Linked DNA regions of Homo sapiens: regions 2, 3, 4, 5, 6 and 7 are each linked to region 1. The links are contacts of gene promoters, found by promoter capture Hi-C in blood cells and fetal thymus (Javierre and others, 2016). All regions are on one chromosome and are shown on one strand. The core of a region is centred on a gene start or on the middle of the fragment in contact, and the rest is flanking DNA. Distances in the headings are between cores, read along the strand shown.

Region 1 (3,055 bases), core at 187-2,686:
ATCCACTTAGGAAGAAGAGGGTGTGGCAAATCTGCAGCCTAGGAAAACACAAACTCAGTTTCTTCGTAATAGATACTGATTCGTTTTGTTTACAAAGATTTTAAAAAACAGTTATGCATTCAAATACTTTAAAAACGAAAATAACTTTATGGTTTGATTTATTTCCGTTGAATTTTAAAGAACTTTGTAGCAAGGTTTAAGATTGCTTAAAGAGCCTGAGTTCGGATTCCTAAAATAGTGCATTGGGAAGGAAGCATAAATCTCTAGGATATTTTCTTCACATTATCTTCAGACATGACCAAATGAAGTGTAACTACCCTTACACTCTAAGAGAATTAAACTATAATGACATATGTGGCATGAAACTTTAGTCTTTCTCTGGAAAAAACGGGAGGAGGGAAGGTTTGGAAGAACTAGAGGATACTAGTTTCATCATGAATTTGGTGATTTGTTCCAAAGTAAATTGCAATAAAAATGAGGGGTGGGGAAAAATGATGGAAAGATAGCTGTGAAGAGCTTTACTTAAAATTGTCTTAGCTGTTTAGCTAGGAACTGTAATTAGAAGGACTGGAGGATGTATTCCGCTGGCTTTATTCTCCAGGCTCTACGGGCCCTCCAATTTGAATAAACCTGGAAAACTCTCCTGACCTCTATTTCTTTGACAAAACATCTTTCTTTCGTGGTGACTTCCAAGGGAGGAAATTGGTACCCCAAGCTAGCCGTGAGGACCCCACCACATGCCCAAGGCATTGAACGCCAGACTCCCTAAGGACTCAGGGATTCTAAAAGTCCCCTCTCAAATCAGCGCCTAAAATACGCCTGTACAGCCACGCGCTACCGCTCCCAGCAGCGCGGGACTTCGGGACAGGGACAAGGCGGACGCTAGGCGTGCGCCCCCGGGGAGCCCCCACGTTCCGGCCACGCCCACCCTGGCCCTGGGCAGCCGCGCCCGGGAGGCCTGGCACCGAGGCGGGCGGGTCCCCGAGTTAGGGGCCCGCGAGTCGGCTGGGCGCCCCCGCCTCTGCCCGGGCAGTGCCCCGCCGAGTGCTCAGAACTGCGGACAAATAGGCTGGAGGGCCGGGCCGCGGAAGGCGTTCCCACACCGGCCAGTCTCCGTCCACCAGGAAGCAAACTCCTCGTACCTCCCTGGGGACCGAAAACTGCCGGTGCCGCCGCACCCGTCGCCGCCGCCGCCTGCTCATGGAGAGCCCGGGCTGCCGCCGCCGCCGCCGCCGCCGCTGCCTCATCTATGAGTACCGCCGGCTGTCTCGGCCTCCCCCGGCGTGAGTTCTGGGCTCTGGCATGGCCTCCATGGCAGCCGCCGCGGCGGGAGCCACAGCAGCTCCAGCGCCCAGGCCCAATCTCACTGGACCCACGGAGCCAGGACAGTGGGACACGTCGCTTCTTATTACGGAGGAAGATTCGGCACGACCTCCGCCCCCCTCCCCCCAACCCCCCCGTTTTCAGCCGCCTGACAGCGCAGCTGCGCAGGCGCGAAGACGCCCCAGCCTAATGTGCGTGTGTCGGCTGTGTATACAGCATCCAGATTCGCCCAATGGGAACCAGGATCAGGTGTGGGGGGCGGGACCTCGCAGAGAGGGGCGGGGTTCCACTGGTAGAAGGTGGGTGGGGAAGCCGGAAGTGGGCAGAGTTTGCACGGAGGCGGAGCTTTATTGGCAAACCTGATTGGCTTTTTGAGGTTTGTACCATTTTAGGACTTGATTTTAGTTTGCTTCTGGGTCTTGTTTTCTCAAATTCTTAACCTAGAAAGAAAGCTTTGTTTTCTCAGTAAATTACGGTTTTTTAAGCGTTTAAGTATTTACTTAGAAAACAGTTGAATTGATCTGTTAAATGCCAGCTTTAGTGTTCAAGTTAATTATTGGCCAATATACTGTAACTTACAGTGGAAGTTAACCCCATTTTGAAAAATTAGATTGTTTTAATTCCATTGTGAAGTTGAAAAAATTGGGTTTTGGAGATAATAAGGTCCCACACAGCAAGTGACGGAGCTGGAAATTACAGTTAGGACAACTTAATGCTAGTTTGTGGGCTCAACCACTATTTCTGTTTATTAGGGCCGAGTTTTTGTATCTCCCGTAAAGAAGCAAGGCCCTGTATGGCTCTGCATCTGGAGAACACAGGCCACCCTGCAAAAACTACCTCTCCTTGCAAGTAGGCATGGAGATCTGGTTGAGATTTTCCCCATCCAGCCTTTCAACAAATAATGAGGGTCTGGAAAGTTAGCTCTAACGTTCAGAACACGTGAGGGCTAATGAGAGAGCTCAAGGCTATCCTAGTAAATCAGTGTGGTTTTCCGTCACAGGCTGAGCCTGGGAGAGGCTGGATGCCTTCTTGACCGGTGTGATGGTCGGCCAAAGCTATGGAGGGGAACTTCCTCATGGATCTCTCTAAAAAAGTCTAGAAATGGAAGAGAGACTTCCATTTCTTGAGTTTTGGCTCTGCCCAAAAAAGAATAATTAATAGCTCTGGCAAAGCCTGCTCTTTTTAGTTTCCTGTTTTTTCTTATTTCTTATGGTATTTTATAGATGAGGAAACTGAGGCTCTTAGAGATAAACTAGTGTGTTGGAAAACTTGCAAAAAGTTCACTCTCAATATTAATCCTCTCCTACAGGTAGAAAAGCCCTTTAAAAATGTTTGTAAATGTGGATTATGTGTTTAATTATAAATCTCTCACAAGACATGGAGTTCATTTTATACTGATTAGGTCATTCTCTTCCTGAAAACAGCCATAGTATGGTGGATGACACCATTTCTGGAGAATAGTATTGAGATTGCTCATTAAACTCTGCCGAGTCTCAGCTAGATGGAGGAAGCATGGATTCCTTGAATACTTGGATAACTCACAAACATCACTGAGGCCTTTAACTGAAATTTCCATTCTGCATCTTTTCCACCGTCTTCAAAATCTGACATCTGAGTTGTAGGGTTTTTTTAGATATATTTACTGAAGTATAATTGGCATAGAATATATAGAGCATACTTAAAGTGTATAATTTTTATCAGTTTTGACATATGTATAACCCCTTAAACCATC
Region 2 (3,055 bases), core at 329-2,828, 5.9 Mb after region 1:
CAAGAGAGGCCAGGGATCATAGTTGAGAAGGAGGGGCAGGAACCCTGCAAATCATTATTGATATAGTTTAATTTGGTAAAAGTCCTGCTGGGTGTGGTGGCTCATGCCTGTAATCCCAGCTGCTCAAGAGGCTGAGGCAGGAGGATCACTTGAGGCCAGGAGTTTGAGACCAGCCTGGGCAACATAGCAAGACTCCATCTCTTAAAAAAAAAAAGTGTTAACCTCTTGGTATAACATATCAACATTTATTGAGTGTCCAGTATGTTTAGGACTTTGTATTGGCTCTTTAGGGTGCAGTTATTACCCATGCCTTTGGAGAGCTTGTAGTCTAATATTAGAGATAAAATACATACCTAAGTAAATTACAAGGCAGAATGGGATATTTGTCCTTAGAAAGCTATGAAGTATTACAAAGGTTAGAAGAGGAAGATGGCAAGAGGTCACATAGTGGTAGCAGGAAGAGGGTGTGTAATCAGAAAAGAGCTCAGAAAAAAGAAACATTTCATTTAAAGAATGGTTATTTCAGTAATTGGAAATTGCATGAGGAAGGGAAATCTAGGTAGAGAATAGTATGGGCTAAGATAAAAGACTACATGCAGAGCTGACTAGAAGAACATAAAACGGAAATGTGTTGTACAAGTAAATTGTGGAGGATCTTGAATGTCAGGTTGAGGAGTGAGAAGTTGAGTATTTATTTGGTAAGTAATGGAGAGTCATTGAAGGTGGACAGAGGGCAGATTTGAGTCTTAGTATAGTTGAATCTTAAGATTAAATGGAAGCAGTCTGTAGGTTGAAAGTATATTTACGAAAATAATCCAAGTGAGAGGGAGTAAAGGCAAGATGGTGAAAGGAATAGATTTGGGAGATATTTTAAAAGTAGACTCAATAGGACTTGATTAGAAGTTGCAGGAAAGTAATTATTCCAGGGCATGGCAACTATGCACAAAATCTGAATTCTGATTGAATCCTGGATTAAAGGGAGAGAATAGCTATAAAGAACATAATTGGGATAATTTGTGAGATTTGAATATAGATCATATATCAGATAACTAGTACAGAATTATTAAATTTCTTGAGAGTGATAATGGTGTGGTTATGTAGGAGATTCTTCTTGATCTTAGGAGATACATCCTGAAGTATTTAGGAATAAAATGTCATGATGGCTTCAACTTCCAGAAGTTATTCAACAAAAAGAAGAAAAAAGGAAAAATAATGTAGAAACATAAAGCATACGTGGCAAAATGTTAACAGTCAGTGAATGTAGGTATGCTATATGGGTGTTTATTGTACTTCTCTCTCAACTTTAATGTAGTCTTGAATTTTTAAAAAACAGGTGAGGGGAAACAGGGTATTTTGGGGTTTTAAGCCTGAGTGACTAGGAAAACATATGTCAATAAATGGGAGAGTGGAGAGAAATTGTTTGGTTTAGACACTGAGTTTGAGGTACTATCTAGAAGGCCTTATTGAGCCACAATAAGATGACCATATTGATTATGGCCATGTTGAGTGGGCTGTTGGCAATTTGGGTTTGATGGTCAGGGCAAGAATGAGAAAGGTGATAAAGTCATCACAGTAAATGCTTGTCTGAAGAGAGAGTAAAGAGGTAAAGGAGAGATGAGACAAAAACTTCAGGGGAGTACAAGTGGTAGGAGTGTTTAGTGAATTATCAGAGAGGCAGAATGAAAAGAATAGTATGTCATAAAAGGTGACTTTATAGAAGGAAGAAGAAGGAGGTAACAAACTGACATGCCGCAGACAGTTGAAGAGGGATACAGAGTGAGAAAAGGTGCTTGGATTTGATGGCTAGGAGGTTATTCGTGGCATTGTGTAAGCGGCTTTAGTATGGTGGTTGAGTAAGAAGATAAATTTATAAGGAATTAGTGGGTGAGAAAGAAGCGGAGGTCGAAAGTATAAATGATTCTTTTGCAAATTTAACCTGAGGATAAGCAGTAGGATAGGCAGATGATTGTTATTACGGTAAGGGCACAGAACTTATTTGGAGACCAAGCATAGGAAAGACACAAAAGAACAGATATTTAAGATCCTCAGGAGACAATATGATCATAAGCAGTATATGGACGTTAAGCATTGGTAAGGAGGCAGGGCACTTATTTCTGCAAAAGCAAAAGGTAAGAAGGGTGAAGACAGAAAGGTTTTTAGGTGGAGTGAAAACTCACATTGGATAATTGCCTGTTTCTTTTCAATAATATGAGATTATTTAGGAGTGAAAAAGGCTGGAGTTAGGGGCCAAAAAAACTAGAAAAGATTAAAAACAGTTCTAAAGAATACAAAAATCAACTGAAGATTAATAAAACGCTTTTGCAGCAGTGGTGAGGGCCTATTTTATTTACTAAAAATATCTAGAGCATGCTTCCATAATGTTCTTTTTTTTTTTTTTTTTTTTTTTTTGAGACGGAGTCTTGCTCTGTTGCCAGGCTGGAGTGTAGTGACGCGATCTCGACTCGCTGCAACCTCTGCCTCCTGGGTTCAAGCGATTCTCCTGCCTCAGCCTCCTGAGTAGCTGGGACTACAGGCACACACCACCATACTCAGCTAATTTTTTTGGTATTTTTAGTAGAGATGGAGTTTCACCATGTTGGCCAGGATGGTCTCGATCTTCTGATCTCGTGATCTGCCCACCTCTGCCTCCCAAAGTGCTGGGATTACAGGTGTGAGCCACTGTGCCTGGGAGTATCCATGAATAGATTTTAATTGTTTCATGAGGGCGGAACCCTTATGACCCAGTCACCTCTTAAAGGCCCCACCTTTATACTGCCACATTGGGGATTTTCAAAATGAGTTTTGGAAGGGACAGATATTCAAACCATAGCACCGTCCTACAATTGCATGATTGAATTTGTGTAATATCCCTGTCCTGTCATCCCTTTTCCCGCCTCCATTTTTTATGGCATTGCTCCTGTTAGATTATTAATTACTTGAGGCAATAACTGTCATTTTCATTTTTGATTTTCCATAGGACCTTAAACATAGCATATATTGAATACAATAGATCTGGACAGGAGAGAGCAGAGATTAGAATATTGGAAATCTGTGG
Region 3 (3,055 bases), core at 322-2,821, 5.8 Mb after region 1:
TGCTCATTGGAGAGCATTTTGGATTTTGGATTTTTGGATTTGGGGATCTTCAATTGGTATAAGGCAAATATTCCTGAGTTTAAAAAAATACAAAATCCAAAACATTTCGGGTCCCAAGCATTTTGGATAAGGGATATTCAATCTGTGCAGTTTGGCTTAAATGGCTTCACTTAGGAATTGTCTTTTAATTTCTTTGTGCTCTCCCTTTTCTTTGTTCTTTCATGTCCCTCTGGCTTATATATTACTTGAAAATTGATTTCCTAGCAGGACTGACTTCTATCATTCTTGATTATTTTCCTCCTCTCCAAATTAATTTCTCCTCTTCTGTGTAACAAATTATAACTGTTTTGAATGCACTGGAAATAAGTATCCTTCTAATCAATTTTAGAATGAATTATTTTTAGTGCTAGGACATGTAGCCTGTGATTATATGACAACAGCATAGTAAATTTTGCTTAGGTTTTACTCCATTATATTTATACAGCATAATGCTCCAATTCCTCAAGGAGGGCGTGGTGCAATCCAGTTTGTGACTCAGTATCAGCATTCAAGTGGGCAGAGACGCATCCGAGTGACCACCATTGCTAGGAAGTAAGTTGTATTTGTTAGAGATTTGATTTTCATATCACAGGTATCTGGGTTGTGTTTCCAAACTGGATTCCTATTTTGGGTGACATCCATGACTAGCAAGTGAATATTTGTGACTAATAGTATTTTATTTATTTCTTTCTAACCCAGCTTATTTGCTACAATATGCATTACTAAGAACCGTAAGAGCAATTTTAAAAAGTACTTCTAAGACACACCCTTCAAAATATTATTTTATTTACCTCATTCCTGTGAGAGGAGAAAAATCAGATATTTACCTATAATAGTCAATAATAATATATATAATCCATTATATATATAAATGATATAGCACAGTAATTAATCACATTACTTTTCAATTAGTGATAAAAATTCTTAGCTATTTTTTTTTCAAGTTTTATTAGTCATTTAATTCATTTATTATGCCATTACTCAGCTTCTGCTTTGTGGAGTAGGTTCTGTTTTAGGAGAGTATGAATGCGGAAGCCGTGAACGTACTTAGCCTCCTGCTGTATGACAGTGTGGTATAGAGTCATCCTCACATTGTCTGTGGTAAAGGGCCAGTTGTGTTTTTTTTCCTAATCCTTCGGGTACAGATGCTTTTATTAAATACAATAAAAATGAATTACTAGAAAAATGAAATTTTAAAAAGTGATTTAAAACAAACTCCCTGTTTTATATTATTAGATTAATAAGATATAAGATTATTTTGTGAAGTTGCTCAGTTTCTAAATATTTATTCTCAGTTCCTCTTTTGACTTCATGGCACTGGTTCACATACCACACTTTGACTAGCACTTGTTGAGACCACAAAAGGTAAAGTCTCTATCTAACAGATTCAATTATAGGGTAGTATTTTGTGTAACATAGTCATGTTCTAATTTATTGATATAGGCAGGGTCCCCAGAAGGGAATAATAAGGCCCAACAGATACCTTTTCTTATTCCTATCTTTGTGATAGATTTTCCAAATAAGGCATGTATTTGTTCATGGGCTCTTTGCCCAGCATTTGCAGAGACAACAAATTTAACTGAATTTAGTACCTTTCTTTTTATTAAGAATTACGAATAAATTATTTCTCTGCTACTTTGGTATCTCTGTGTATTTGTGAAGTATAAAACAAAAGGAAAATAATTGTGGAATGAGTTTAGTTAGGAAGAGGTTTTTTAGATGAGGTGAATCTAGAAATGAACAGGCTTTGGTCTTTATTTCTGTTTGTCTTGAACTTGGTTGTCTGGATAGGAAAAGTGTTGATCAGTAAACTTACCCAGTTTAGTCATGGTCTCGACAATGGACAAGGAAGGCATTTGTAGCTCTCATTTTCATTAAGTGTACTTAAACTCTAGCTTCATTCCTGAAAATCTTAAGACTTTTGTTGAGTGATGGACATGAACACAACATTTGAACTGAGTATTAGCTGTATTGGGTGATCTATTACTTAGCACAGGGTTGTACATAGATTTAGTGTTCTGTTCTGTTACCTTGCTTTGACTTAACATCCTGGAACAATGTCAAGGGGATACATTATTCATTTGAAGAAAAAATGTCAGCTGAACCTTCCCTTAGATTTATTCAGATTTCAGATAAGGAACTTGGAAGTACTGATGCTTGGCAAACTTCTCAGTTTATTTATGGCTCTCAACGTGTGTGCACACACACACACATGTGTGTGCACACATTAAATTTGACATTCAGAACATTTGCTTAAGGAAACAACGACATACCAAATGAAGGACTTTTTACAACTTACAAAGTCACTGGTTTGTACTATTCAAAAATGTCTTGGAAGACAAAGAAAGTCTGAGCAACTGATCCAGATTAAAGGATACTAAAGAAACATTACCACTAATGCCAATGTGTGATCATGGACAAAATGCAAATGTCAGGGAAAAATTTTGCTTTAGAAGCCATTATTAGACAATTGGGGAAATATGAATATAGTCTCTTTCTATATGATAATGGCATTATATCAGTGTTAGATTTCATGAGTTTAATAATTGGAGCTATATAAGAAAATTTTTTGTTCTTAGGAGATATACACTGAAGTATTTCAGGCAGAAGGTCATAATATCTCCAACTTAATCTAGAAAAGTTCAGCAAAAAATGTGTATATAAATGGAGAGAGAGAATGATAATGCAGATGTGTTAAAATGCTAACAACTGATGAATCTAGGTGATGGTTATATAGGAGTTTATTCCACTCTTACTGTCTTTATGTTTGAAATATTTTTAAAATGAAAATTTTAAAAGGTTAGGTGACTCTTTCAAGAGACAGGGTGCTGTCTTATGAGAAATATTATGGGCTTATATATTTTCAGTTTGCACAGAATTTATGAGGCTATTTGTAGAGACATATGTGTGTTATGGTGCCATTTATAGCATTGTGTCTTACCAAAAGCATCCGTCTTTTCAAGTTAACTTATCCCAACCATTTCCAATGATCAGAGCACCTTGTTGTTTTTTTTTT
Region 4 (3,055 bases), core at 198-2,697, 5.8 Mb after region 1:
ATTCAGACCAGTTATTTGGTAAAATGTTCTTCAATTTGAGTTTGTCTTGAAGTATTCTCGTAATTTGATTCAGGTCTTGCATCTTTGGGAGGAATATCACAGAAGTAATGCTGTGTTCTTATTGTTACATTTTACAGGTGGCACATGGTTTTCATTTGTTCTGTTACTGATGATATTCACTTTGGTCATTCATTAAGGTAGTATCTGCCAGGGCTCTCCACTTTAAAATTACTCTTTTTTTACCCCTTTGTAATTAATAAACATTGCAAAATATTAGGAACCCCCATGTTGATTTATTTCATTACTGCTGATGTTAACTTTCCTTACTTGGTTAAGGTTGTTTTTGTCACTGTAAAGTTACAGGTTTTCCTATTGTAATTATAAATATCTTATTAGGAGATACCTTGAAAATATGTGAATAACCAGTGTACTCAGCAAACTTTTACCCACTAGTTTAGCATCCATTGATGATTCTTTTCTGATCAATTATTATTATGATGCATGCCAAATAGTGGCTTTCTAATTCCATCATTTCTACTTTTATTAATTGGCTTTCTACTTGAGGAAGAGCTTTCTCTCCTCTCCCATTTACGTATTTATATATATATAAATTTATATACACATATATATATGTAAATACATACAGAATACACACTGGGTGTATTCTTACATTCTTATTTTATACAACAAGATACATTCCTTTACTATCATAATTTACTTTGATGCTTAAGTTTTCCCCGATTTGGCTAGTGGGAGCCTCTTCAAGCTGCTTCTGGGTCCTTATTAAATGCCGCATGTTTGCTTAAATACTTCCTTTCTGGTATAGTAAGTTGTTCAGGGCTCATCTTATCCTTTTCCTGCTCTGGACCTGAAATGAAACCACTTAGGAGCCCTGTTTCCTTTTAGCCTTGGTTCTACCAAGAAGATAATGCTTCATGTGCACCCTTACCCTGGGTGTCATTAATTCTAGGTCCCAGCGGATGGAGCTAAGAAGAAGATGTATGTGCATATATATGTATCTATAGATGTATATAAAATCATAAGTATATGTGTGTGCATATATGTCTGCATACTCCAATATGCATCTATATCTCTATTAAAATAAAAAAAATTTTATATTAAAAACCAATGTTTCTTTCAGGTATGTTCAATTCAGTACCACAGGGTTTATTCTATCCTTCCCACTTTTCCATATTTGTAACTCATTCTCTATGAGAAACCTGCTCCCGTTATCAAATATATTTACTTATTTGCTCAGTCCTAGAATATATAGAATAGTTTCAGAGTTTCTAGCTCATACCTCTGTTAGAAAGAAGCTTAGGAGTTAGAGCCCAGTATTTGTTTAATGTTCTGAGAATATATAGTACAAAATATAATGTTCAAAAGTTAAGTGGGTTATTCCCCTCCACTGCCCTTAGTGTGATTATGTTATTCTTTGCTGTAAGTTTTATTTGTATCTTCTAGTAAATTTCTTAAGAAGACTTAAGAGTACAGAATTTCTTGGGCTGTTGAATGTTTAAACTTTTTTCCTGTGGTTCTGATAGTTGAAGAATAGCTTGGTTGGATATAAAAAGCTTTGGTTCTAATTTTTTTTTCCTGGAGGTTTTGGAAAATGCTTTTTCATTATTTTCTTACCTTGATGTGTGTGTGTTTTTTTTTTTTTTTAAACAGAGCCTCTGTTGCTCAGGCTGGAGTGCAGTACGTGATCATAGCTTACTGCAGCACTGCAACCTCAAACTCCTGGTCTCAAGCAGTCCTCCAGCCTCAGACTCCTCCCAAGTAGCTGGGACTATAGGCCCATGCCACTATGCCCAGCTACTTTTTAAATTTGTAGAGACAGAGTCTTGCCATGTTGCCCAGACAGGTCTCAAACTCCTGGTCTCAAGTGATCCTACCACCTTGGCTGATGTTTTTTGAGAAGGCTGATACCAGCCTTATTTTCTTGCCCTTGTAAATTATTTGATCATTTTGCTTCAAGGTCTTGAGGAATTTTTTTTTTATCTTGTAGGGTTTTTGTTGCAGGTTAATTTTCTCTAGTATGTGGTAGGCCCTCTTTATATGTATTTTTTCCTATAAAGTTGTCTTATAGTATTTTTTCCTATAAAGTTGTCTTATAGCTTTAAATAGTAGTTTTGTTCCATTGTTTTATTTTATTTAAGAACTCCCGGCCAGGCGCAGTGGCTCATGCCTGTAATCCCAGCACTTTGGGAGGCCGAGGCAGGCGGATTACCTGAAGTCAGGAGTTCGAGACCAGCCTGGCCAACGTGGTGAAATCTCATCTCTACTAAAAATACAAAAATTAGCCGGGGGCGGTGGCACACGCCTGTAATCCCAGCTACTTGGGAGGCTGAGGCAGGAGAATTGCTTGAACCCGTGGACAGAGGTTGCAGTGAGCCGAGATCATGTCACTGCACTCCAGCCTGGCCGACAGAGCAAGACTCTGTCTCAAAAGAAAAAAACAACTGCCGTTATATATAAATTGACTCTTCTTTGCTTGCTTTTTATTTCAGCCATCTTTTTATTTCTTTATTTCATTTTCATTCTCTTGGTTTTTTTCTTTTCTTTAGTGCCTCTTACCAAGTTTTCATTTGAATCTGTAGTCGTTCTTCTAGGCCTGCTGTTTGTTTCCCTCTTCTCTCTTCTGTGTACTTCTTCCCAAACTGCCCTTGATCTTTTTGGAGAATTGCAATGAGAGCATGAGAGATACAGTTCACGGGGATTTAGTGGCTTTTTTTTCCCTCCAGTTGTAGGAAATTTGAAGTTTGGATGTTCTTTGTGTCATAGTTTTATGAAAGTATCTGTATATAGTTTTATTTGCTCTTTTCTTCATTTTTTCAGCTTTACATGACTGCTATTATCTCAAATACCCAGAATGAAGAGAGTATTTTTGTTATTAGTTAAGAAAGTTATAGAAGTAATAATCATACCTTGTGAAAACATTCAAACAATATGCAATGGTATATACAAATAAGTAGAAGACAACTTTCCTTGTTCTCTAGATTTGTTAACCATATGATTTTATTTTATTTTATTTTATTTATTTATTTTTTAGATG
Region 5 (3,055 bases), core at 398-2,897, 5.8 Mb after region 1:
TTAAAAAATTAAAAAACTTATCGCTACAAAAAATTTAAAAATTAGCTGGGTGTGGTGGTGGGTGCCTGCTGCCCCTGGTATGTTGAAGGCTGACGTGGGAGGATTGCTTGAGCCCAGGAGGTTGAAGCTGTAATGAGCTATGAGTGCACTACTGCACTCCAGCCTGGATGACGGAAGAAGACCCTGTCTCAAAAAAAAAAAAAAAAAAAAAAAAAAAAAATATATATATATATATATATATAGCTATTTTTGAAATGTAGCATATGTTAAGGATATCATCCAAAAGATCAATTGGTTATATAGAAAGAGTACCAAATTAACTTCCCTAAGATTTGAGTCTATTTATACTCCTGTACCACGTCTAAGAGTGCTTGTTTCCCCAGCTCTTGTCAATATGGTGTATCAAACTTTCTTGGCCAATATGTTACCTGAAAAATAGCACCTTGGCATAGTTATGTTATACTTCTATTACAAGTGATTTTTGGCATCTTGTCATATAAGAATAATTTTATTTCCTTTCTGTGAGGTATCTATATCCTTTGGCTATTTTTTCTTGGGCAGGGGAGGGGTGATTCTTGGTCTTTTTATTGATTCTTGGGGCTTTTTACATTTTTAGGAAAAATTAGTTTTAAATGTGAAAAACACAATGTGGCACCATATAGCAAATAATAAATACCTGTTGAACTGAAAAGAACTACATGCTATAGGGAGTAAGCGCTAATGCAGAGGCATGCACTGGATTCTCAAGGAACACCTGCAAACTTGGGGGCAGGTAAATCCTGAAGGACAAGGAGTTGTCTACATAACTTATGATTACAGCCACATGAATTTTAAAGATATCCTCAACATTTCATCTTTAGAATATGTGATTTATTTTTTACAGGCCCATGAAGTGATAGATGTGATTATGCATTTTAAAGCATCTAATTGTGTCGATTTCCATTTTTTCCCTGGCTACTCATAACACTGTTTGCCTGATGCCTCATCATTTAAAAAAACTATGAATCTTATCCAACTCATAAAATGATTACCAAGCCAAACATAAGGGATATGAAGCCAAACTAAAAAAAGTCACAGTAAATTGTTTCAGAAACTAAGCTGTTTTGTTAGGTTGAAGAGCTAATAAACTAAGTCTGGGTTGGCAAACATTTTCTATCAAGAGTCAGACAGCAAATATTTTAGGCTTTGCAGGCCACATAAAGTCTCAGCCACATATTATTTGTTTCTTTTTTACTCTTTCAAAACCTAAAAACAATCCTTAGCTCATGGATATAAAAAAGGCCATGAACTGGACTTGGCCCAGGGTAGAGTTTGCTGACCCCTTATATTAAGTGGTGCACCAAAATTAAAATGCTTTTTGTTCTGTTTATCCACACAGCCCTTACTTGTACATAATCTATTCCAGGACTTTCATTTGTGGCTGGTCCAACAGCCCCGTCAGCACATAACTTTTCACCCAGACAAAATTTCTTCCAGCCTTCTTCATCTTCAGATTTTGGCTAAAAGAAAAAAAAAAAAACTGATTTATTCCTGTGTATTAATTTTTACACTGAACAGTAAAAAAAAAGAAGTTAAGTCCTTCCATATTCCCATTACCGCAACCCAAAGATACGGAGCCAGTTATGGGGAGAATCTCTGCCCCCAAATTTGTATGTTAAAACCTTAAACTCCAGTACCTCAGAATGTGACTGTATTTGGAGACAGGGCCTTTAAAGAAGTGATTAATTTAAATTGAGGCCATTAGGGTGAGCCGTAATCCAATCTTACTAGTGTCCTTATAAGAGGAAATTTGGATTCACAAAGAGACACCAGGGACTCCCACACACAGAGGAAAGACCACGTGAGAAAACAGGGAGAAGGTGGCCCTATGCAAGCCAAGGAGAAAAGCCTCAGAAGAGACCAACCTTAGGCCGGGTGCGGTGGTTCACGCCTGTAATCCCAGCACTTTGGGAGGCCGAGGCAGGCGATCACATGAAGTCAGGAGTTCAAGACCAGCCTGGCCAACATGGCAAAACCCCACCTCTACTAAAAATACAAAAAAAAAAAAAATTAGCCGGATGTGGTGGTGCACACCTGTAATCCCAGCTACCCAGAGGCTGAGGCAGGAGAATCACTCGAGCCTGGGAGGCGGAGGCTGCAGTGAGCAGAGATTGCGTCATTGCACTCTAGCCTGGGCAACAAGAGCGAAACTCTGCCTCAAAAAACAAACAAACAAACAAAAAGAGACCAACCTTGCTGCCACCTTGTTCTTTGACTTTCAGCCTTCAAGACTGAGAAAATAAATACATTTCTGTTGTTTAATCCACCTAGTCTGTTATGGCAGCCCTGACAAACATAGTGCCTAAGTGGCTACACAATATGTGGGACATGTTGTTTTTCCTTATTATTACATTTTTTGAGACAGGGTCTTGCTCTGTCGCCCAAGTTGGAGTGCAGAGGTGTGATTACAGTTCATTGCAGCCTGAATCTCGGGCTCAAATAATTCTGCCACCTCAGCCTCTTGAGTAGCTGGGACTACAGGCATGTGCCACCATGCCTGATAATTTTTAAATTTTTTTTGTAGAGATAGTTGTCTCACTATGTTGCCCAGGCTGGTCTCAAACTCCTGGCCTCAAGCAATTCTTCTGCTTTGGCTTCCCAAAGTGCTGGGATTACAAGTGTGAGCCACTGTGCCCAGCCAAGATGTGTTTAGTTTGGACAAGACTTTAGTGGACACTGACAGACAATGGTGTGTCCAAAAGAGGATGATAAAGACAGAAATAAGTATGGGGGAAAAAATGCACCAAGAACACTTAATAGAATGAAGGATATTTATCCCATGTAAAGAGACATGATTACATATTTCACATATTTGAAGGGTTGTCCAGTCAAAGAAGAAACAGATCTACTCATGCTGCCAGACAGAAAAAGCAGGACGCAGGACTATTTGGGAGAAGCATTCAGCTCAATATAACCTCCTTAACAAAATAACCTTTGTTTGTACATATCACCTTGTATATTACTTTGCATAGGTGCATTTTCCCCCTAGGGATAAGTAGCTTTCATTAAATCCTTA
Region 6 (3,055 bases), core at 370-2,869, 5.7 Mb after region 1:
CAGAGAGGTATGGGGTCTGGATTGTAGAGGACAGTCCATCAGTCATCCATAGGATTTGGATGTGTTCAGCATAGAGGTACTATTTCAAGCCTTAAGATTGAATGAGATTGTCAAAGAAAGAGCAAAGCAATCTCATGATTTAAGGCAAAGTGTGATAATCAGCTAAGACACTGAGAACTGGGAAGCCTGGATGATTCTGAGACATTTTGAAGCAAGGAACAATAGAACTTAGAGCAGAAAGCAAATGACTCAGGGAAAAACATCAAAGGTGATACCAGGTTTTATAACCTAGGAGAGAAGAATGATTGAAATTGGGATAAAAGGGAGACGAGGAGTAATTAGGAAGAGGATTTGATTTCTGAAAATCAATTATAAGCAGTAGTTCCCTGTTTATCCTGTTGCCTTGTGCCAGGTGCAGTGGCTCACACCTGTAGTCCCACAGCTTTGGGAGGCCAAGCCAGGAGGATATCTTGAGGTCAGGACTTTGAGACCAGCCTGGGTAACAGAGTGAGATCCCATCTCTTAAAAAAAAAAAAAATAGCCAGGCATGGTGATGTGCCTGTAGTCCTAGCTACTTGGGAGACTGAGGTGGGAGGATTGCTTGAACCCAGGAATTTAAAGCTTCAATGAACCATGATCTCGCCAGTGCACTGCAGCCTGGGCGACAGAGCAAGACTTGTCAAATAAATAAGTAAATAGCAGTTTGGTCTTTTGTTGGAGGAACGTCTATTCTTAGCTTGGACACTGCGGTTTTTCCTTGGGCAGCAGAAGCAATGTGGCGATTGAAGAAGTGACCTAAAACTTTGATGTTAGGTAGAAGCAGATGGCCCAAGCCAAGACAAGTGCTTGTAAATCCACTGGTGGGAGCCCCTCCTCCTAACAGCAGGTTATTAACGCTGCCAGAAAAAAAGTGTCCCCTCTACCGGTCTGGTGAAGAAACCTCATCGCTACGGGCCTGGGACTGTGGCACTTCTAGAGATTCTCGTTACCAGAAATTGACCTAGCTTCTCATCTGGAAGCTGCCTTTCTAGAGGTTGGTGAGAGAGATCACCCAGGATTTCAAAACCAACTTTAGGTTTCAGAGCACAGTCATTGGGGTGCTGCAGGAGGCTAGTGAAGTGTACCTGGAGGCTAGTGAAGTGTACCTGGTGGGTTGGTTTGAAGATGCTAATTTGTGTGCCATCTACGGTAAGAGAGTTGGCTCTCATGCCCAAAGACATCCAGTTGGCTCGCCAGACACGGAGTGAGCGAGCTTAAGTGAAGGCAGATTTTAAGGCATTTTATATGAATTCTGTAAAATACTTTGGTTTAATTTGTGACTTTTTGGGGAGAAATTATTTATAATATGTTGCATTTGTGCTTAAGTCATTCCGTCTTTTGGGATGAATGTGAAAAGTGACTGTTCATAGACCTCAGTGACGTAAGCACTGTTGCTCAGGAGTGACAAGTTGCTAATACGCAGAAGGGATGGGTGACATTTTTTCATTCTCATGACGCATGTTTCTGTAAGTTAATGACTTGTTAGGTAGCTATTAAGGAACTAGAGTTGATAAATAAATGTGTATAGGTTCCTTTTGCAATATAACTGGTTATTACTTGATCCAAGTGTTTAACATTTGGAGCTAAGTCTGACCATACATTACTGTGATAGAATGTGGGCCTTTTCAAGGGTGAAGATACAAGCCTTAACCACAGTATAACTTGCAGTTTCCTTAAACAAACAAAGAAATAAAAACCTAGCATGGAGTACATTATGTGCATTTATAATAGCTATTTTAAATATTGTAGTGTCAACATTCAAAAATTAATTCTTTTACATTCGCAAATGGTGGGGAGTCTTGTCATTAAGGTGTGTATAACTTAGAATCCACTTGGTTTTCTCCTAACTGGACTGCATTTGTTTTCATAGTAGTAAAATGTTATGTGTATTACACCTTGCATAAGTCCTCATTCTACTACGTGTTAACTAACCCTCTAGATGATAATGCAGATGCTAACTGTGGGATTTTATTTATAAGAACTCTAGAATAAATACCAGTTATTCCTACCAACATCGGCTGTTACTAATATTCTGAAGTAGTTAGTGCAACTTTTCATTGTGTTGTGGTTGGTCTCCTAAGTAGGTTGGATTTTTCTCCTCTTCTAAGAGAAAACAATAGTGAAATTATTTTCTTTCTCTTTTCTCTCTGTTTCTGTCTCTTTCTCTCTCTCTTTCTCCCTTCCCTTCCCTTCCCTCCCCTCCCCTCCCCTCTTCTTTTCTTTTCTTTCTCTTCTCTTCTCTTTTCTTTCTTTCATGGGGTCCCTTGCTCAACCTGTTGCCCAGGCTGGAGTGCAATGACATGATCATGGCTCAGTGCAGCCTCAACTTCCTGGACTCAAGCAATCCACCTGCATCAGCCTCCAAAATGGCACATGCTACCATGCCCAGCTATTTTATTTTTACTTTTAGTACAGATGTGGTCTTGCTATGTTGCCCAGGCTGGTCTTGAGCCATTGAGCTCAAGTGATCCTCCTGCTTTGGCCTCCTAAAGTGCTGGGATTACAGGCATGAGCCACCGTGTCTTGAGGGGTTTGTTTCTATTAAAAGACTTGGTGTCAGGGAGGAGCACAAAGCTTTAACCCATTGAACCTCTGACAGTTAAGATGGTGTTGGGTTAGGTTACATCTGGTTACTATCCTGGGAAAATCACTTCTATAGAGATGGCCTTCCAAGTGGTTTTAAAATGTATCTTTCTGTCTGGGCGCGGTGGCTCACGCCTGTAATCCCTGCACTTTGGGAGGCCAAGGCAGGTGGATTGCTTGAGGTCAGGAGTTTGAGACCAGCATGGCCAACATTTTGTATTTTTGTATTTTCTCTACTAAAAATACAAAAATTAACCAGGCATGGTGGTGGGTGCTTATAATTCCAGCTACTTAGGAACCTGAGGCAGGAGAATCACTTGAACCCTGTAGATGGAGGTTGCAGTGAGCCGAGATGGCCCCACTGTACTGCAGCCTGGATGACAGAGCGAGACTCCATCTCAAAATAAATTAAAAAAATGTATCCTTCTATTGA
Region 7 (3,055 bases), core at 280-2,779, 5.7 Mb after region 1:
TTAAAGGGTTGGGCTGTATCTGAAATCTCCAAAAAGGCTGAGTAATTTGACAAAGAGCCCCAAATAATTTTGATTCCTCCATACTCCTTTTCAGATCTACTATGTACAAGGAGCACTCTGGTCACCCTTTAGCTGCACAGCACACAAAATATTTACAAAAAATGTCACAGAAACTGTTGTTTCCATTATTTGGAAGAAAACGAGGACAAATTTCAGGATGTGACTTGGCTCATTGTTTCAAACATATTTGGATGTGCTGAAAGAGAGGAAAGAAAGTGGGAAAGAGAGACCAAGCCACTTAACACCAAGGATTTTTTTTTTTTTTGATGGAGTCTCGCTCTGTCCCCCAGGCTGGAGTGCAGTGGTGCCATCTCGGCTCACTGCAAGCTCCGCCTCCCGGGTTCATGCCATTCTCCTGCCTCAGCCTCCCGAGTAGCTGGGACTACAGGTGCCCACCACCACGCCTGGCTAAATTTTTTATATTTTCAGTAGAGACGGGGTTTTCACCATGTTAACCAGGATGGTCTTGATCTCCTGACCTCATGATCAGGGGCCCGCCTCAGCCTCCCAAAGTGCTGGGATTACAGGCATGAGCCACCGTGCCCGGCCAACACCAAAGATTTTGGGACAGTCATGGCAAGGAGTGGCAGCTATTACAAATTTGAATAGGGTAGTCAACTGGCCATGGAAAGTGGAGTTGCAGGCATTTGAGTATCATCATTTTTTTTAGTATAATTATTTAAGTTCCTTTTTTGAAAAGATTGGCTGGACATGGTAGCTCACACCTGTAATCTTAGCACTTAGGATGGCCAAAATGGGAGGATCGCTTAAGCTCAGGAATTCGAGACCAGCCTGGGCAACAGGGCAAGACTCTCATCTCTATTTAAAAAAAGAAAAAAAAAAAAAAGTCCTGCTAGCTGAGACAAAGACAGGCGTAAGAAAAACATTCTCAGATACCTCGTTTATTTTTACCAAGTTGTAGTCTCTACCCCACTGGCTTACTAGAGTAGTGGTATTGAATCAAATACATAGCTACATTTTCTGGGCTATGTGATTTAATAACATTCATTTTAACCTCAAAAAGGGAAAATGGGTTGGATTTGTCGTTGGATTTCAGAAGATATTTTAAAGTTTGACTAGTCATAAAAAAATTCTTACACAATATTAGCCATAAAAGAAATTCTTGTTTATGTACTTTAAACCCACATCTTGACTGACTCTAATAGCATTGGCCCATGTAATCACTACTCTCTTTCCTTTTGAATTTATGTCAATACATTATTGGTATGGTGGCTTTTGCTTTGCCCAAATTACCTGAGTAATCATGTAAATTGTTATCATTCTACAGATAGTGTGTAGAAGGACCCTAGATTGGAAATACAGCTCATTGAAGTTCAAACTATCTTTATTTTGGTGGTTACCCAAACCTTGGTATCTTAAAAGATGTTTCCTTAATAGCCCCTTAGACATCTCTGCCAATTTTTTTTTTAGACAGTCTGTCACCAGTATGGAGTGCAGTGGTGCCATCAAAGCTCACTATAACCTCAAACTCCTGGGTTCAAGCAATCCTCCCACCTCAGCCCCCGAAGTAACTAGAACTACAGGTACACACATGGCTAAATTTTTCTATTTTTTGTAGAGATAGATTCTTGCTGATGCCCAGGTCAGTCTTGAACTCCTGGCTTCAAGCCATCCATCCTCTACCCTCAGCCTCCCAAATTGCTGGGATTACAGGTGTGAGCCATAGCACCCAGCCTGTCTTTCCTAATACAGCTCTAAACTGATTTCAGTCCTAACTCACCATCTCTATCCCCTTTCAGCTCCTAAGTTTTCCATAAACACTATTTGGGTTTTTTTGTTATTTTTTAGACAGGGTCTCACTCTGTCACCCAGGCTGGAGTGCAGTAGTGTGATCATAGCTACTTCACCTCAACCTCCTGGGCTCAAGCAATCCTCCTGTCTCAGCCTCCAGAGTAGCTGGGACTCAGGCTCATGCCACCACAATCGGCTAGTTTTTCTCTTCGTAGACAGTTTTTTGCCATGTTGCCGAGGTTGGTCTCTGGCTCCTGGGCTCAAGCAATCTTTCCACCTCAGCCTCCCAAAGTGTTGGGAATTACAGGCCACTGCACTCAACCATAAACACTAATTTGTAATCTCCAGTAGGAAGACTACTGCGTGTTAGCCGGGCGCCGTGGCTCATGCCTGTAATCCCAGCACTTTGGGAGGCCAAGGCAGGCGGATCACGATGTCAGGAGTTCGAGACCAGTCTGGCCAACACAGTGAAACCCCCAACTCTACTAAAAATACAAAAAAAAAAAAAAAAAAAAAAATTAGCCAGGTGTGGTGGTGTGCGCCTGTAATCCCAGCTACTTGGAAGGCTGAGGCAGAATTGCATGAAGCTGGGAGGCGGAGGTTGCAGTGAGCCGAGATCGCACCACTGCACTCCAGCCTGGGTGACAGAACGAGACTCCATCTCAAAAAAAAAAAAAAAAAAAAAGACTACTGCATGTCTTTTCCCCCTGGGAAACTGTCATTACTTTTACATTCTTCTTCCTTGTGTCTCTTCAAGTGCAATTCCATGGTTCTCTGAACATTAAGTTCCATAAAATTTTAGTTCAAGGATAAAGCACTGATCGGAAACAAAAAAATCTAAAATACTATATTTAAAAAATTAAACCTTCCAACCTAAAAATGAATACCACTTAAAAATGTTAGTACAATCTGTTATTAAAATTCCTGTGCTCACTTCAGCAGCACATACTAAAATTGGAACACAGACCAAGAGTGGTGGCTCACGCCTGTAATCCCAGCACTTTCAGAGGCCAAGGCAGGAGTAACGCTTGAGCCCAGGAGTTCGAGACCAGCCTGGGCAACATAGTGAGATCCTGTCTCTACAAAAAATAAAAAATTAACTGGGAATGGTGGTGCACACCTGTAGTCCCAGGTACTTGGTAGGCTGAGGTGGGAGGATCCCTTGAACCCAGGAGGTCGAGGCTGCAGTCAGATTGTTTGTGCCACTGCACTCCAGCCTGGGTGACAGACTAAGACCCTGTCT

Evidence for each region. The method cuts DNA at HindIII sites, captures the fragments that hold promoters and counts their contacts. A CHiCAGO score of 5 or more calls a contact.
Region 2: a fragment that was not itself captured here is called in contact with the fragment with the promoter of DORIP1 in region 1 in 3 of 17 cell types (total CD4 T cells, activated CD4 T cells and naive CD4 T cells); the score reaches 9.1 in total CD4 T cells.
Region 3: a fragment that was not itself captured here is called in contact with the fragment with the promoter of DORIP1 in region 1 in 5 of 17 cell types (total CD4 T cells, naive CD8 T cells, activated CD4 T cells and 2 more); the score reaches 17.9 in total CD4 T cells.
Region 4: a fragment that was not itself captured here is called in contact with the fragment with the promoter of DORIP1 in region 1 in 9 of 17 cell types (total CD4 T cells, naive CD8 T cells, total CD8 T cells and 6 more); the score reaches 20.9 in total CD4 T cells.
Region 5: a contact is called between a fragment that was not itself captured here and the fragment with the promoter of DORIP1 in region 1, in 13 of 17 cell types (total CD4 T cells, naive B cells, naive CD4 T cells and 10 more). The highest score is 38.6, in total CD4 T cells.
Region 6: a contact is called between a fragment that was not itself captured here and the fragment with the promoter of DORIP1 in region 1, in 12 of 17 cell types (non-activated CD4 T cells, total CD8 T cells, activated CD4 T cells and 9 more). The highest score is 27.6, in non-activated CD4 T cells.
Region 7: a contact is called between a fragment that was not itself captured here and the fragment with the promoter of DORIP1 in region 1, in 12 of 17 cell types (total CD4 T cells, non-activated CD4 T cells, naive CD8 T cells and 9 more). The highest score is 19.9, in total CD4 T cells.

Annotation. Positions count from the first base shown.
Region 1 is chr14:44,895,656-44,898,710 of GRCh38, reverse strand. DORIP1 (dopamine receptor interacting protein 1) reads right to left here and starts at 1,436. Exons shown (of 5, transcript NM_001017923.2): 1 at 1,143-1,436. RefSeq lists silencers at 782-1,101, 1,122-1,251 and enhancers at 618-1,117, 1,742-1,791. The HindIII fragment of the contact is 3,873 bases long and covers 1-1,777 here.
Region 2 is chr14:39,035,675-39,038,729 of GRCh38, reverse strand. All of the region lies in intron 19 of SEC23A (SEC23 homolog A, COPII component), which reads left to right. Among named protein-coding and RNA genes, the nearest start is that of SEC23A-AS1, 66 kb to the left of the region's middle. The HindIII fragment of the contact is 4,681 bases long and covers 1-3,055 here.
Region 3 is chr14:39,059,301-39,062,355 of GRCh38, reverse strand. SEC23A (SEC23 homolog A, COPII component) reads left to right here. Exons shown (of 20, transcript NM_006364.4): 13 at 485-591. Among named protein-coding and RNA genes, the nearest start is that of SEC23A-AS1, 42 kb to the left of the region's middle. The HindIII fragment of the contact is 9,282 bases long and covers 1-3,055 here.
Region 4 is chr14:39,079,817-39,082,871 of GRCh38, reverse strand. The region is part of intron 7 of SEC23A (SEC23 homolog A, COPII component); the gene reads left to right. Among named protein-coding and RNA genes, the nearest start is that of SEC23A-AS1, 22 kb to the left of the region's middle. The HindIII fragment of the contact is 258 bases long and covers 1,319-1,576 here.
Region 5 is chr14:39,120,874-39,123,928 of GRCh38, reverse strand. It overlaps GEMIN2 (gem nuclear organelle associated protein 2), which reads right to left. Exons shown (of 10, transcript NM_003616.3): 5 at 1,386-1,499. Among named protein-coding and RNA genes, the nearest start is that of GEMIN2, 8.1 kb to the right of the region's middle. The HindIII fragment of the contact is 5,325 bases long and covers 1-3,055 here.
Region 6 is chr14:39,159,808-39,162,862 of GRCh38, reverse strand. The region is part of intron 1 of TRAPPC6B (trafficking protein particle complex subunit 6B); the gene reads left to right. Among named protein-coding and RNA genes, the nearest start is that of TRAPPC6B, 9.0 kb to the left of the region's middle. The HindIII fragment of the contact is 1,992 bases long and covers 624-2,615 here.
Region 7 is chr14:39,183,708-39,186,762 of GRCh38, reverse strand. No RefSeq gene overlaps it. Among named protein-coding and RNA genes, the nearest start is that of PNN-AS1, 9.4 kb to the right of the region's middle. The HindIII fragment of the contact is 9,645 bases long and covers 1-3,055 here.